Linked DNA regions of Homo sapiens: region 1 is linked to region 2. The links are contacts of gene promoters, found by promoter capture Hi-C in blood cells and fetal thymus (Javierre and others, 2016). All regions are on one chromosome and are shown on one strand. The core of a region is centred on a gene start or on the middle of the fragment in contact, and the rest is flanking DNA. Distances in the headings are between cores, read along the strand shown.

The links. The method cuts DNA at HindIII sites, captures the fragments that hold promoters and counts their contacts. A CHiCAGO score of 5 or more calls a contact.
Region 1: a contact is called between a fragment that was not itself captured here and the fragment with the promoter of LINC02210 in region 2, in 3 of 17 cell types (M1 macrophages, erythroblasts and monocytes). The highest score is 7.3, in M1 macrophages.

What each region holds. Positions count from the first base shown.
Region 1 is chr17:46,270,974-46,276,795 of GRCh38, forward strand. LOC124904014 (a long non-coding RNA gene) reads left to right here and starts at 3,043. Exons shown (of 3, transcript XR_007065823.1): 1 at 3,043-3,118. It also overlaps a transcript of LRRC37A not described here and a transcript of ARL17B not described here. The HindIII fragment of the contact is 238 bases long and covers 1,132-1,369 here.
Region 2 is chr17:45,616,499-45,622,399 of GRCh38, forward strand. It overlaps LINC02210 (long intergenic non-protein coding RNA 2210), which reads left to right and starts at 3,831. Exons shown (of 6, transcript NR_138260.1): 1 at 3,831-3,874; 2 at 5,410-5,543. It overlaps LINC02210-CRHR1 (LINC02210-CRHR1 readthrough), which reads left to right and starts at 3,848. Exons shown (of 15, transcript NM_001256299.3): 1 at 3,848-3,874; 2 at 5,410-5,543. RefSeq lists an enhancer at 1,985-2,964. The HindIII fragment of the contact is 33,843 bases long and covers 1-5,901 here.

The DNA of each region.
Region 1 (5,822 bases), core at 1-2,500, 650 kb after region 2:
AATCTTCTAAGAAAAGTCTTTTAGTATCTCACTCCAAGTATCTAGAAATACCTTAGAATGTTTCAAATTATTAAAAATACTTCTCGGTTGGCTCTTCCCTCCACCTCCTCAAGTACTTCATTATTTTATCCATGGAATATCCCCATTCTCACATTAAGGGCAAGAAATCTGAGACCTATGGTAATAGTTTCTTTTTTTTTTTTTTTTTTGAGAAGGAGTTTCGCTCTTGTTGCCTAGGCTGGAGTGTAATGGCATGATGTCAGCTCACCGCAACCTCTCCCTCCTGGGTTCAAGTGATTCTCCTGCTCTAGCCTCCCAAGTAGCTGGGATTACAGGCATGCGCCACTTTACCTAGCTAATTTTTTTTTTTTTTTTTTTTTGTATTTTTAGTAGAGATGGGGTTTCTCCATGTTTGTCAGGCTGGTTTCAAACTCCCAACCTCAGGTGATCCACCTGCCTTGGCCTCCCAAAGTGCTGGGATTATACGTGTGAGCCACCACGCCCAGCCGTATCATGATAGTTTCAATCAGGAAGAGTGAAAGCTGTAATAACCATGTAACTTTGTCTAACTAAGTGTGCAGAGATCTGAAAGTCCACCAGGTTGGCTCTTTAACATAAAGAAGTAGAGAGTTTGCCTAAAGGAATTAGCAGAAATAGGGAAATAACTTTTATTTGCAGATCCCAGGAAGGTAGATTACAAACAACAGCAAATCTTAGTGTCTCTAAATAACACTCTAGGCCATTTGGAATATAAAAAGGTAATTATTTTACTTCAGAAAATATCTCCAAAAGTTCACTTTTTTTTTGAGACAGAGTCTTGCTGTGTCGCTCAGGCTGGAGTGCAGTGGCACAATCTCAGCTCACTACAACCTCTGCCTCCCCAGTTCAAGCCATCCTCCCACCTCAGCCTCCTGAGTAGCTGGGACTACAGGTGTGTGCCACTTGTCCAGCTAAATTGTTGTATTTTTAGTAGAAACAGGGTTTCACCATGTTGGTCAGGCAGGTCTCTAACTCCTGACCTTGTGATCTGCCCGCTTCAGCCTCCCAGAGTGCTGGGATTATAGGCGTGAGCCACCATGCCCAGCCACAATTTTATTTAAACCTCCTGTAGAATTTGGATAGGAGAATAAAAGCTTTACCAATAGGAAAATACTTTTCATGAAATGGTTTCAAGGATTGTGAACTTGGCAGGTGAAGCATAACAGTTATTGAAAATACTTTTAGCCAAGGAAATCTACTGATGCAAATTAAATATATTTACAAGCCCAAGGCCTGTGGTAGAAACATCCTAAGAGTATCACAAATGTACAGTTTACTGCCTGGATTATTGAAAGCAAAATAGCTGTGTTATATAGATCTTAATAGCAGAAGCTTTCAAAGATTACTCACAGAAAAGCAGCTTTCAGAACTCATTATGTTCTAAAAAATGTATGTTTTTCTTTCTTTTTTATTTTTTTTGAGATGAAGTCTCACTCTTGTCCCCCAGGCTGGAGTGCAATGGCGTGATCACGGCTCACTGCAACCTCCGCCTCCCAGGTTCAAGTGATTCTCCTGCCTCAGCCTCCCTAGTAGCTGGGATTTCAGGTGCCTGCCACCATGCCTGGCTAATTTTTGTACTTTTAGTAGAGATGGGGTTTCACCATGTTGGCCAGGTTGGTCTCAAATTCCTGACCTCAGGTGATCCCCCCTGCCTCGGCCTCCCAAAGTGCTGGGGTTACAGGCGTGGGCCACCACACCTGGCCAGGAATGTGTGTTTTTCAAAAATTACTTTTGAAAGACTAAAGCCCTATAGTTGATAAAACTATAAAATGTCTTTATGTATTTGTATGGTGATAGAAACTGTAAAACACTTTATACCATTAAATACACATGAAATTAATATCTTCCTGGTCTCAGGATTTCCATAAAATTTACCCTTTTTAATTTGGCAATGCTAACAGCTACAGAAGACATATTACCACCAACCAACCGTTGCTTCATTAGAAACTGCACCAAATCCAATGTCAAAAACATTACTTTATTTTTCTAGTATGAAATGTCCTATTACATACAAAAGAATTGCTGTTTAGAATTTGCCACAATTTGTTGAAAACATAGCAATCTATTGCCTACAGGTAGGAAAGTTCTTGCTGCAACAAATTTTAAATGATTAAGCCCATATATATTTCTATATATATGAATAAATAGTGCAGAAATACTGTGACGTGATGAGATGCAGAATAATTTTATAATTCATTAAAATGTAGAATTCTTGCATCAGCACAGTGCATACAATATGTAACTTTTTTTAAAAAGTAAAAGGACAAAATAATCCATATTTAAGTATTTCCATCTTAATATTTTAAGCAAAAATGTTTTCATGTTTTCATATTGAGTGATTAGTCTCTTTAGTTTGTAAACATAGGTTTAAGTGACATCTTCATGTACAAAAAGGAATGGGCTTCATTAGATAAAATTAAGCCAGAATAACCTGTACACCTGAGCCTGTAATAAGAAAGAATTGGGAACTGTAGCAACATCTTTCTTTTAAGAAACCAAGGTCTGGGAAAGGTTTTGCATAGCAGGGAAACGTTGAAAGGAAGGAAACTTTTAAAAGCAATAATTAGATAAATTCCAGAAGTTGATAGGACAAAGCTAATATGAGTTAGAATAAAATCTAGTAGAATTTTTGCAAAGCTGCATAATCCAGCTATGGCAGATTTTATAGAAGCTATTACCACAATGCAGTAATACAATGTGTAAGAACATTGAAAGGAAGAACATGCAAAATACATCTTCCTCATTTTCTTCCTACTGCTTACACTACTTTTCCTTACATGGAAGAAACAAACAAACCAACAAGCAAAAAACAAACCCAATCAACAAATAACACAGAGGATGAGATCATCTAACAAAAAATGTCCTTCATACAATATAAGTAGCTGTCTGTAATTGGTAATTTGCCCAGTATCACAGAATGTACAGATGAAGGCAATGTGTATCTTGTCGCATTACCTTTTTCGTTAGTATGATCAACTGATGCGACAGGATTAGCACCCCTGAAGATTCTTCTCTGACGTGATGACAATTGACTGGGAATGATAAAACGAGGGGCCACTGCTGTCCAGGAGAATTCCAGGTACAATTAGATTCTTTTGCCTTTCATGACCTTGCAGCCCTCCCTCCCCACAGAGGCTTACAGATAATCATTAGCACACATTCAAAGACACCTCTGTCTGTGGGAGAAAAACTATCTCCATTTATTTTGTTTCACATACATCCATAGTTGAATTTTAATACAAAAAGAAAAATTAGAATCTGACAAATGTTTACAAAGAAGATACCTTCAAATAGATTTTACTCATTTCAACCTGGTGTGGAGTAATTGACAAATTGTACTGTTATATTCAAGTCACCAGAGTCTGTAGTCCAGGACCACTTAGCCCAACCTTTATGCAAGCTTGATTTTAATCTACCATGAACAATAAACTCATTGTTGATTCGCAGTTGTGTGTGTGTGCACATGTGTACATAGCAGCTCCTTTCATAGAAAGAAAAGACATCTAGAGGTTGTCTTGTACTTTTACGTACAGGAATCATTGATAAGATATGGATGGATTATATGTAACCGTGGCTGGATTTTATAAGAAAAAATAATTAGTTGACAAATGAGGGCAGCAATAAAAAAGCATCTTTTTTGCAACAATAAATAAATACAGTCAAAAGTTTTCTTTGAGACTCTAAACCAGCTTCTTCACTGAAGAGCAGACGTGGCATTTCCATGGAGTTATACTTGACCCCACAGTATCATTGTTTCTTGCTTTCTTTTTCTTTTTTTTTTTTAATAAACAAAATTTTCTCGCTTCTGCCACAATAATAAAACCATTTGATCTTGACAAGATAATGGTGTCGTTGACTTTTCTTTTTTCTTTTTCTTTTCTTCCTTTTTTTGTTTTTGAAACGGAGTTTTGTTCTTGTCACCCAGGCTGGAGTGCAATGGCTCAATCTCGGCTCAATACAACCTCTGCCTCCCGGGTTCCAGCGATTCTCCTGCCTCAGCCTCCCAAGTAGCTGGGATTACAGGCATAGGCCACCATGCACAGCTAATTTTGTATTTTTGGTAGAGACGGGGTTTCTCCATATTGGTCAGGCTGGTCTCGAACTCCCGACCTCAGATGATCCGCCCGCCTTGGCCTCCCAAAGTGCTGGGATTACAGGCGTGAGCCACCGCACCTGGCAACTTTGCTTTTTTCTTGTCCATTGGACAAAATTGGCCAATAATATAATTGGACTGTTATGACCAATAAAAACAAAGTTTAGGTCAAGTCTTGTCAGGATAGCCTCACTAAAAAGATCTGGCTCCTTAATTTAAAATAGTTCAGGCAACAAGATTCTTGCTGTGTTTTATGTTAGGTTAACATGCTGAACTTTAGGAAGCTGTAGACTGCAGTTTGTTGTTGTGAGACCTACAGAGTATAGAAAAAGGGAACAATTGAGCACCTTTCATTTTTGAAAATGATGCTTTATGCGGATGCCAAAGTAAATAAATCTGGAAGAAGCAGCCATGTTCTTTCATTCACCCTTGGCAAGCGAATAGAAAAGAACGATTAAGAAATTTTTAACCTATAATAATAAAACTTTTCACTGTACACTAAGCATAATAGCTCACTGGAAAAAGCCAATATTTAAAATATGTATGTATATATATTTGTCTAATAAAGATTACAACATTTTCAGGCAACTGGACAAATAGAGACATTTACAGAAGCATTACCATTGTGGTGAAAGGTGCGTGTGTGTGTGTATGTGTGTGTTTATTTACACGGATGAGGGGAATATAAAGGGAAAAATTATGCTAAAACAAAAGAAAAAGCAATTTTAAAATCATATTTTTCTATTAAAGTCCAGAAAGTCTCCCAGTTTCACACAGTTTTATTCACAATTTTTTTTTTTTTTGAGACGAAGTCTCGCTTTTGTCCCCAGGCTGTAGTGCAAAGGCGCGATCTTGGCTCACTGCAACCTCTGCCTCCCAGATTCAAGCGATTCTCCTGCCTCAGCCTCCCGAGTAGCTGGGATTACAGGTGCCTGCCACCACACCCGGCTAATTTTTGTACTTTTTGTAGAGACGAGGTTTCACCATGTTGGCCAGGCTGGTCGCAAACTCCTGACCTCAGGTGATCCGCCCGCCTCGGCCTCCCAAAGTGCTGGGATTACAAGTGTGAGCCACCAAGGCTGGCCTCACAACTTTTGTCAGTAAACCAAATTACTGTACAGTTACCAGGACTAAGTCAAAGGACTTTATATTGCAATAGCAGATAAATTTATATTGCAATAGCAGATAAATACAGTATTCCAATAGTTTACAATTTTTAAATACATTGTTTCACGTGGCTGCTAGAATAAATTTTTTACCACTATACATCGTTAACATTAAAAAATTATATTAGCTAACCTGACTTTTTGGGGGGCAATTTTGGATTACGTAATCACAAGGTACAATAAAACAGTGACCCCAACATCCAGTTCTGATTCCAGTTAAAAATTTAGACTAAAGATATCACAATCCGTAAGAAAAGAAAGAATATGGATGGTATAAATGATGAATTATAACAAAGTGCAGTAATGAAAACAATGTGCAAACAATGCTGGAGATCATAAATTACAATGGGAAAATATGGCAAAGGAAATTCTGGAAACCCATAATAAAATCAAGTTTCAATAACTGGCTAGTTATGTTTCATTCTACCTTAAATCTGGAAAGCAATAGAAATTCCCTAAAAATGCAACAGCAAGTTGTCTTTATACAATTCTTTGCATTGTAATTTTTTTCTTTTTTTCTTTTT
Region 2 (5,901 bases), core at 2,581-5,080:
CTCGATGGTAGCTCACTGCAGCCTTGAACTCCTGGGGTCAAGCGATCCTCCTACCTCAGCCTCCCAAGTAGCCGAAACTACAGGCAGGCACCACTATGCCTGGCTGACTTTTGTATTTTTTGTAGAGACGGGGTTTCGCCATGTTGCCAGGCTAATCTGCAACTCCTGGGCTCAAGCAGTCTGCCCACTTCACCCTCCCAAAGTGCTGGGATTTCAGGCTAGAGCCACCATGCCCAGCCCACAAGATCTAAACGCTACTGTTGAAGCAAAAAGACTTGAAGACAGAATTTGCCCTCCTAATATAAGCCCATGGTAACCTGAACCTCCTTCACCCTAACTCTCATCACAGTGTATTGTGATTACTTATTGAGGATGAAATTTGATTTTCCTTTTTGATGTACTTCTCCAACACAGTACCTGGTATGTGGAAGGCACTCAAACTAGGGCCAACCTGGTGCCAGCTAACCTGGGACTAGTGCAAGCTCCTGAAATTCACCTGGTCAAGGGACACATGTTCACAGGATCTCCTGGGGTTGTGTCACCAAAAAAAAAAAAAAAAAAATTTCACCTGGTGTCTCTAGTCACCATGATTTTCTCTAAAATGCCACACAGAATTCTATGTATGGAATTTTTTTCTTTTCTTTTTTCTTTTTCTTTCTTTTTTTTTTTTTTGAGACAGTCTGTCGCCAGTCTGGAGTGCAGTGGCGTGATCTCGGCTCACTGCAGTCTCCTCCTCCCGGGTTCAAGCGGTTCTCCTGCCTCAGCCTCCCGAGTAGCTAGGACTACAGGTCCGTGCCACCACGCCCAGCTAATTTTTGTATTTTTAGTGGAGATGGGGTTTCACCATGTTGGCAAGGATGGTCTAGATCTCTTGACCTTGTGATCTGCCCGCCTCAGCCTCCCAAAGTGCTGGGATTACAGGCGTGAGCCACCGCGCCCGGCCAAAATTTTTTAAAAATAAGGAAAGTTCAAGTTTACTTTAGATACCATAGTTCAGGATTTAAACTCCTGTCCTTACTTTGGAATGTCATTTTAGATACTTATGTGATTGACTGAGGAAAAAGACATTGTAACTGATCTTATCCCCTTTTAAAAAAAAAACCAGCTAACAATTATTCATTTAGTCTTCTGTACATTGTGTGAAATAAAATATAGAAGACTAGGGGACAGTTTCTGCCCTCAAGGAGCTTATGTGGTTTTTTTCGTGCGTTTTTTTGTTGTTGTTGTTTTTGTTTGTTTGTTTGTTTTTTGACATGTTCTTACACTGTCACCCAGGCTGAAATGCAGTGGTGAGATCTCGGCTGACTGCAACCTCTGCCTCCCAGGCTCAAGCGACCCTCACCTCAGTCTCCTGAGTAGCTGGGACTACAGGCATGCACCATCATGCCCAGCTAATTTTTGTGTGTGTGTTTTTGTAGAGACGAGGTCTCGCCCTGTTGCCCAGGCTGGTCTCGAACTCCTGGCTTCAAGTGATTCACCTGCCTCAGCCTCTCAAAGTGCTGCGATTACAGTCATGAGCCGCCTCACCCCGCCAGTCAGGCTCTTAAAAAATCCATCACACAGGCCGGGCGCCATGGCTCATGCCTGTAATCCCAGCACTTGGGAGGCCAAGTCGGGCGGATCACGAGGTCAGGAGATTGAGACCATCCTGGCTAACACGGTGAAACCCCGTATCTACTAAAAATAACAAAAAATTAGTCGGGCATGCTGGCGGACGCCTGTAGTCCCAGCTACTCAGGAGGCTGAGACAGGAGAATGGCGTGAACCCGGAAGGCGGAGCTTGCAGTGAGCTGAGATAGTGCCACTGCACTCCAGCCTGGGAGACAGAGCGAGACTGTGTCTCAAAAAAAAGAGAAAAGAAAAAAAATCCATCATATGTATTCACTAATTTAATCTTCACAACAACTCTAAAGGGTAGGAACTATTTTTTTTGCCCCATTTTACAGATATGAAATGAGAGGCTGTGTTGAAGGTGTTTTCTGGGGTTGATTTAAATAGAATTAATAAACTCAGAAAAAAGATTCTTAATCGATAAAGGTGGTTTTTTTTTTTTTTTTTTTTGGTTTTTTTTTTTTTTTTTTGAGTCGGAGTCTCACTCTGTCATCCAGGCTGGAGTGCAGTGGCGTGATATCGGCTCACTGGAACCTCTGACTCCCTGGTTCAAGCAATTCTCCTGCCTCAGCCTCCCGAGTAGCTGGGATTACAGGCATGCGCCACCATGCCCGTGGTTTCACCATGTTGGCCAGGATGGTCTTGATCTCCTGACCTTGTGATCCGCCCACCTTGGCCTCCCAAAATGCTGGGATTACAGGCGTGAGCCACCGTGCCCGGCCTTGGCTTTCATTCTTATTGTCCCATGGTTACCAGAGCCTAAAGAGGTAAAGAGGTAAGACCTATGAGGCTCTCACAGTTTTTTTTTTTTTTTTTTTTTTTTGAAACAGGGTCTCGCTCTGTCGCCCAGGCTGGAGTGCAGTGGCGCGATCTTGGCTCACTGCAGCCTCCGCCTCCCGGTTCAAGCAATTCTCCCACCTCAGCCTTTCCAGTAGCTGGGATTACAGAGGCGCGCCACCACGCTTGGCTAATTTTTTTTTTGCATTTCTATTAGAGATCGGGTTTCACCATGCTGCGCAGGCTGGTCTCGAACTCCTGACCTCAGGTGATCCACCCACCTTGGCCTCCCAAAGTGCTGGGATTACAGGTGTGAGCCACCGTGCCCGGCCTCTCTCATAGTTTTATTATTCTATTTTCCACAGACCCTTCCTCCCTTAATTTTCATGCCTCTTTAATATTGTTTCTTTTACCTCACTGACATTCTTTTTCGTCCTCCTACCTTTTACTGTGGGTGTCTTATTACCCTTCTTTGGGAGTTTATCCTTTAGCATGTCATAGATCACTATCTTTAGGCAGAGGACCCTGCATCTTCTCTAGTCCTGATTGTCTACCCTTTCTCAAGTTCCATAACTTCAGTTGCCTCTGGGACACCTTCACTGGGTTTTACAAAACCCTGTTACCGGGAACTGAACATATTAAAAGCTAAGATTCCTCCCCAAATCTGCATGTTGCGCCAATTTTCCTGCCCAATTATCTTGTCTGTCCCCTGGTTTTGCGACCTTATTTAAACATTTAAATCCTTTTCTTTAAATTGGAATCTTGATGAGTGGTGCAAAAATCAATGGATACAAATGATATGCCGAGATATGTAAGTCTTCCGCCCACTGGTTCCCTAGGCACTCAGTTCCTCTCCCAGGAGGTAACCACTGTTGCCAGCTCTTAGAGTGATTTTTGATTCCTTCTTCTACCGGCTCTATCTCAAGTCCTTCCCTGTCTGTGAGATGTGTGCCCTTTCCTTTCCAGGCCCTAGTGAACTGATATCTGGTTGAGTTTATATATAAACATTTATATGTGTATATTTTATATACATATATAACATCTCTCCCTATGGCCTTCCGGCCTGGAGTTTTCATCACGTCGCTTCCTGGATGAAAGAATCTCGAGGGGTGAGGGGCAGGGGTTGGGGGTGATGGAGAAGAGAACCTAAAGGGGACTTAGGTAGGGGGTTCAGAGTTGCCAACTGGCGTGACGCTCTGTCAGGATTCCTATTCCTATTCCTCCCACCTCAGGCCCCCTTCTAGTCCTCTCAGCCAAAAGCCTCTCGTTTCCAAGGGCTGAGACAGAGACAGAGACAACGAGATGCACAGAGACAGAGACGCCAAGGCACCTGCATCCCTCTTCCCCTTCTGTCCCGCCCCATCGCTCTGACGGACACCATTGCTCAGCCAATGGCGCTCACGATGTGCCCCTGAAGGGCCAATGAGCGCCAGAGGAGGGCGGAAGATTCCCCGCCCCCACTTCTAGGCTTGGTTGAACCGTGCAGGTAGGTCCGGGGCTGGGGGAGCTGCCTTTGGCACTGGTGCCCCTGGGGGTGGGGGCACGAGTGGGCCAGGGTGATGGTGAGGTAGAGGAGGTGTCCCTGACCCGACGAGCTCGAGGGAGCGGCCTGGCTGGGAGGCGGGGGGCCGCGGGGCCCGGGGAGCGGGCGCCGCCGAGGGCCCTGGAAGCGGCGGGGCTGGGGGAGAGGGGACGCGTGTGTGGGGCACGGGGACGCCCGCCCAGCGCCCACTCGTAGGCCTGGGACGCGGGCTGCCGGCCGAGTGGCCTGAGGGCCTGGCTGCCCGGGGGGCGGGCCGGGGCCGCGGCCGGGGGCGCGGAGCGGAGCTCGGGGCGCCAGGCCGAGCCGAGGTGGGACGGACCGACGCGGAGAGGAAGGGAAGCCGCATCCCGCGGGGCGCCCCTCCTGAAGCGAGCCGGGCAGCGGCCGCGGGCGCCCCTGCCCTGAGCCCACCCCGCGCTCTGCCCTCCCTAACAATGGGAATGGGGCAGAAGGAGGCGCCCCACTGCGGGGAGGTGAGGGGTGGGTTTGGGACTGGGGTCCGCGGTGGGGGGAGGTGCGATCTCGGGCTCTCGCCTCTCCGCTCCCTCTGGCTCTGGAGTTGGGGGCCCCTGTGGGGCTCTGAAGTCCGCCTGAGACTTGGGTCAAGAGTCAAACTGTCGCCCCCCGCTCCTCCCCCAAAATCCGGTGAGCGGTAAGGAAAGTGATGCCAAGTCTTCGAAGCCTCAGTGACAAACGCATAGCAAGAACACATCCACTCCAGAGGTGTTTATTTTTTATTTTTATTTAAAAAGGGGTACTTTTCGACATTTATTTTTAAGAAGTGGGTGCTGTTATTTTTGTCCCTACGCGGGCAAGCCTCCATTTTAAGCGAAGCAGTAACTGGTTAAGCTGGAATTGTATACAGGCCCAGGACTTGAACGAGGATCCTACCAGAGGTCATTTAGTCCATCCTCCTGCCTCCAGGCAAATTTACCTTCCTCCCACCCTCAAAATTAAGTTGCTCGGTCTGCTTTTAACGATCTCTGGGGAAGAAGGGTCCTTTATTTGTTTCTAGTACTTCAGTCAAGAATAGGTTTTACTTTTCATGTGGAATTGACTCTGAAACTTAAGCATAATCTTGGGACAGTCGGGATGATTAGAGAAGTTTTACTTTACTAAATATAATTAAATGTGGCAAGGGTCTTTTTTAGACGGTTAATTAACAAATCACGTTTAGTGTTTATGAAGTACCCTGGAAAATTACTTTATTCTCTCTGGGATTTTGGCTAATTGTTTGATAAGCAATTTTACATTATCTAAAATACGTGTTACATATTTATTTCTCTTTTTATGTAAAGTATGTTTCTACACACATATATATGGAGACACACATTTGCCCTTTTCTAAAGGGGACTGTATTTTCTATACTTTTTTAGTGCGATGAGGCAAATAGTACTTCAAAATCCCTGCCCAGGTAGCTTAAACTATTTGCATTGTCTTGATTATTTTTTAGTCTAAATGAAAATCCTCTCTTTCAGATACCTTCTCGAAACAAAAGATTTTCCTACCTGCTTATACTTGGTAACCGAGGGAATTTCTAAGACTTCTTGCTCATTTCTGAGTATTGTCTTTATATCCTGACACTATGAATGCTACTTGGATGCCTCTTAAGGTAAGATGTGTTATTTTTTCATTACCAGCCTCATTTTATTCATTTTTCTTTAGAATTGGGAATATTGTAGTTTTTGAATTTGCTATTCTTCACTTCCTTTACCTGCCATTTCTCTTGCCTCTTGTGTTTGCTTCCTAGGATTGATTGGCTATATCTTACTTTGTATCTCTACTGTTCTTTGATTATCGGTGTGAATGTTTTAATGAAGTTCTCAAATTAACTTCCATTATAATGAAAGGCAGTGATCTTTTTAACTTTAAATTATGGCAACTTACATAGTTGTAAAATTATGTTCCGGTCTTAGGATGGGTTGGCAATTCAAACATCTAGGTCCACTTTTCAAACAGGTACTTTAGAG